2 separate regions of the Homo sapiens genome follow, and region 2 is linked to region 1. The links are contacts of gene promoters, found by promoter capture Hi-C in human tissues and cell types (Jung and others, 2019). All regions are on one chromosome and are shown on one strand. The core of a region is centred on a gene start or on the middle of the fragment in contact, and the rest is flanking DNA. Distances in the headings are between cores, read along the strand shown.

The links. The method cuts DNA at HindIII sites, captures the fragments that hold promoters and counts their contacts. A contact is called where the count stands out against the background at its distance.
Region 2: a fragment that was not itself captured here is called in contact with the fragment with the promoter of METTL14 in region 1 in 2 of the 25 tissues and cell types used here (lymphoblastoid cells and mesenchymal stem cells).

The regions. Positions count from the first base shown.
Region 1 is chr4:118,684,139-118,686,644 of GRCh38, reverse strand. METTL14 (methyltransferase 14, N6-adenosine-methyltransferase non-catalytic subunit) reads right to left here and starts at 1,253. Exons shown (of 11, transcript NM_020961.4): 1 at 1,045-1,253. The coding sequence starts at 1,110. It overlaps METTL14-DT (METTL14 divergent transcript), which reads left to right and starts at 1,304. Exons shown (of 7, transcript NR_125930.1): 1 at 1,304-1,340; 2 at 2,178-2,237. RefSeq lists enhancers at 715-854, 1,035-1,294. The HindIII fragment of the contact is 10,452 bases long and covers 586-2,506 here.
Region 2 is chr4:118,941,862-118,944,367 of GRCh38, reverse strand. All of the region lies in intron 1 of SYNPO2 (synaptopodin 2), which reads right to left. Among named protein-coding and RNA genes, the nearest start is that of SYNPO2-AS1, 42 kb to the left of the region's middle. The HindIII fragment of the contact is 4,120 bases long and covers 1-2,506 here.

The DNA.
Region 1 (2,506 bases), core at 4-2,503:
ACTTGATTTGCCCAAGATCGTAATGCCAGCGGGATAAGGAACAAAGGAACAAATCTGACTCCAAGTTTCCACGGTTTTAGCCATATTCCACAAATCTGTTCATCAGACCATAAAGAGGATAGGTTTCAGAAGTCCATTTACTAAAACCAAGTTTCATTACTGAAAAATAACTGCAAGATGACTAATTACACTCTATGAGCATTGCTCCTATCACTTTTACTGATCTGAATAGTAGAATGGAAAATACAGCCTCGATTTTAAGTAGAACTGTGCACAATCTGTATTTTCTGCATGTGCACTCTACTAATCAGCAAATGTTAACTTACTCATACACAAGAAAGAAGTGAAGGACAATGGTTTAGAAGACAAGCTTTGGGGAGACAAACCTAGGTTCTATTTCCCAGCAGAGAAGTGAGCGACCAGGAGTAAAATTCCTTAACGTATGGAGCCTTTTTCATTACTTGATAAGTGAAGGTAATAATACCTGTTTCAGGAGATTATTGTGACTAACACAGAGTAAGATTTCAAATATTAACTGTGGATGTGACAAGGATACTCTATATAAGATGCAGAATCTAAAATTTACACTCAGGCTACTTCCAGTGTTGTCTTCAGAAAGATGTCAAAGAAAATACTGTAAACGTATTTCATAATGAAACCACAATCTCAAGAATTTGGGGCTGACGACGAAGAAAAGAAAGAAATAGATGACCATTTAATAGTGAAGAGAAATGTAGGGGATAACATGACACTCATCCTGGCGTGAACATGCCAGACACTCGGTGGGAGTTCCACAAAGCTTAAAGGCTAATCCTGGCATTCGGTTTAGCACCACAAAGACCGCGGAAGGAACTGGAAAAACATTCGGGACACCGCGAAAATTGAGAACTACAAAGGCAGAACCAGGGATCAAGATCGCAGGACCAGAAAGGCCTTAACAGCGGCAGGTAGAGAAGGGACAGAAAAAGGCGGGGTGTGGAGGGAGGAGGCGGCCGCGCACTCGCATTCTCGATCCCTCCCACAGGGGACACCAGGGCCGCGGACCTGCTGCGCGAGGAGCTGTCGCCGTAACTTCTGCCGCTCCCGGATCTCCTGCAAGCGGCTATCCATGTTCCAACTCCGGCTTTTCACTATCCCGAGTACTTGTCAATCTCCAGTGAACTCTTATCCAACCTTTCTTCCGAGTCTGTGGAACAAAATTCACCGGGAGCTTACGAACAGAGTATCCTCATAGCTTTCCTCAGTAGAGACTTCCGGCGCGGCCGGAATTGGCTCGCTTGGCCCGGAAGTCCCGCCTCCTTCTGGACGCTTGCTATGTGACGCCACTTGGAAGGGACCCAGTAAGGGATCTGTTGCGCCACAGGGGTCTCCAGGGCCCTCGCAGGTTGGGGTGGTCTGAGCTAGTCTGAAGGAGGACAGTCAGCTGACTTCTCCTTTATCTCTCTTTCCCAGGATAGCAGGTTCCCTTGGTGTATTACAGTTTCTGAAGTGTTGATTCCCTTTTCAATTGATTCCACAGATGACAGTCCTGACGTTTAAAAAATTGCCAGATAACCTTTAATTTTTTTTTTTTTAACAGAACACAAACTTAAGCCAGATTGCCTAGGATTGAACCTTGGCCTCTCACTTCCTAGACGAGTGGCCTTGGCTAGTTAACCACCTTCGTGAGCCTCAGTTTTGTCATCTGTAAAATGGGAGTCATAAGTGTCTACCTCACAGAGCTGTGATTGAAAGGATAAATAGCACCTTGCACATAGCGGTGTAGAAGTGCTTGTTATTGTTAATATTTTATTTACCTTCACGCAGGTAACAGCCACAACATCTGCCCACTCTTCCCCACACCTTACTGTCCCTTGAAATGTTTCCCATTTTACTATAGTATGCATTTTTTGGCTTCTTCCCTTTAGGGAAATGAGTATGTGATAGTAAAGCGTGTCTTGGTTTATGTCCTAGGAGTCAGAAGCTAAGAGACTCCTTTTTGTGCTTGTACATTTGTCTTAACTGAAAATAACCCAAGGATAAGGAAACAAATAGCTTCCTGAAATTACTCGGATTGCGGGGGTGAGGGGTGAGGGCTGGGGGGTGGTGATTCTGTCTTCATAGGATGGCAGCAAAGGCCAAAGTCTTATTTGAGTTATTACCATTATTATTCACCACACTTGCCATCTTATTTCAAGCCTACAGTGGCGGAAGTGGAGTAAGACATCATGTTGCCTCAAGTTTAATTGGAAATCGCGGTAAGTACTTAACAAAATTAGTAATAAGTCTGTTCTTTCAGAGTAGATTTAATTTTCAGAAATAATATTAAGTCATCCAGATCAAAACCAGTTGAGTCAGGCTGGGCCAAAAGTGGGCAAGACTAGATTCTACTTAGTCATGCCCACTTTTATAGAAATAATTATAATGTATTTCCGAAGAACTAGGTCTGAAAGACAATTTTGAACAAGTAGTCCTAAACAATTCCTTGAGTAATGTCAGCACTACTTGGATACTGTAAAATATTTAT
Region 2 (2,506 bases), core at 3-2,502, 260 kb before region 1:
GGGTAACTTGATTTCCCCAGGACTAAAGAGTTTCCCAAGAAGTATGAGTTTCAATTTTAGCACCAGGACAGTCCCAGGCAAACTGCAATGAATTGGTAGTCTACTGCGAGTAGACTGGTAGCATTATTTTATTAATTATCCTTTTATAACACTAATCTATCTCAAGTACACTTAATGTGCACTTGATTTGACACTAAAAAGCCATCCTAGATTAAGCCTATGTGGCCAAAGTAAAGCTGACATCAAAGAAAAGAACTTGAGGATAAAATTCTTGCCTAATCTAGGAATTCCCAGATTTTGAAGAGTAGTATCACAGCTTAGAAATTAAACTTTAACATGTAAAAAGCACAGTAATATCTTTAATAAACATCTTAACAGAAATTTGGTTGTACACAAATGTGGCGTTACTTCCACGTAGGTATGTAGCACTGAAAGCAACATAACTGTCAAGTAACGTTTTGCTAACACACACACCTCAATATGAGTGTTCCTCCTGAAACAGTCACCTTGAGAGGTACACACTTAGCACAGTGATGTTGATTTGGCATAAGACATTTCTAACACTCATTTTAAAATTGCCTTTAGAGTCAGATTTACTTAATTTATAGCCTGTCCTCAATTTTTATGAAAATGGCATTGGGAGTATGGATGACTTTCCTTATTCATCTTATATAGGGTTCAAGTAACTTAATTTTTTCCTAAAACCAAATTCCTGCCTCAGAGGGCAATGTTTACTACCACTGATGATATTCAAAAGAGCATGACACATGAAGACAGTTCCAAAAAGATATGACAGCATCTCTTTGATCAACGGCAGCATGTTAGCATGAAAAAACAACTCAAATTTTAAAGAGAGCAACTTTGAAGTTATAAATTCTATATAATTGTTCCCTTCCCCCACATCACTTATGTTAATTTAGTCATACCTTTTAACTGTCAGCTAAAAAGCCTATGATTTTGGTTCTCATGCTAAACCCTGACTTCAGCATTGTCATTCCATGTCTCAATCTACCTAATTATTTGCTCTGATACCGAGCCCCTCTCTTGTAGCTTGCAATGTTTTCTCCTCTGAAAATTACTTTTCCCCTTAGGGCTGCTGTCTTTACTTCTAAGATATCAGCAAGTTACCTTGTAATTGCTTCATGGAGAAGTCTGGGGACATGGTTGGTTGTGTGAGGTCTTTTTAGGTAAACTTGTCAACACACCATCCTTTAATAAAGTTTTTTTTCAACCTCAACACTATTGACTTTTTTTTTTTTTTGAGATGGAGTCTCGCTCTGTCACCCAAGCTGGAGTGCAGTGGCATGATCTTGGCTCACTGCAACCTCTGCCTCCCAGGTTCAAGAGATTCTCCTGCCTCAGCCTCCCAAGTAGCTGGGATTACAGGCGCATGCCCCCATGCCCAGCTAATTTTTGTATCTTTAGTAGAGATGGAGTTTCACTATGTTGGCCAGGATGGTCTCGAACTCCTGACCTCAAGTGATCTGCCTACCTTAGCCTCCCAAAGTGCTGGGATTATAGGTGTGAGCCACTGCACCTGACCAACTGACATTTTAGGTTAGATAATTTTTTGTTGTTAGGGGAGCTGTCCTGTGTATTGCAGGAAGTTTAGCAGCATCTCTGGCCTCTATCCACTAGATGCCAGTTGTGACAACCACAATGTCTCCGGTCATTGCCAAATGTCCCCTGTGGCAACATTATCCCCAGTAAAGAACCATTGGCTGACACAGGGATGTAGAGATGAGTCATTCTCTTTATAGGGTTTTAAGTAATACATTATACTGCTGAGCCAGATTAAACTTTGAAAGGAAAGAAAAAAACCCTCACATTTAAAGTAAATGAAAATATGTTTTAATTAATTGATAGAGCAAAATCTAAATTTAGAAAAAAATGTTGTGCTTTCCAGGTGAAACACGAACTATGTATACAAGATAGAAAGCTGTCCATTCATTCTTTCATTCAGTCAATATTTACTGAGCATATACCAAGTGCCAGAGACCCCATGCCGGGCACAGGGGTTACAGTGGTGAACAAGATAGACAGATGTCTGCTCTCAAGAAACAACATAGCAAGTTTGGGACATGTGTTACAATATAGTGAGATACGTACCTTCCCACAATAGGTGGTAGAGTAGTGCATTTATTAATCATGTTTTTTATATTCTGTATTTTATGATGTTTTGATATTTTGATGGAATAGAAAGGCTTGAGGGCTGGGGAGAGACTGTCCTTCCCAGAGCTAGTTAATTCCTAATATGATAAATAACTTGCCGTCCAGTATTCCTTTCATATGTAAACCAAGCATTAGTGAGTCCATCTCCCTAACCACTTCCTTTATCTCTCACACACTAAGCCAATATTTCCTGCCCTAAATCAACACAGGACTAGAAACCCAGCCAACCAGGGATAGCTCCTATGTCCCAAAGCCTGCCAGAATTATTAAAACTGGCTAACCCTAAACTGTTTCCCCTGACTCGCCTTGCCTTTCCTACGGAAAACACAGTAAA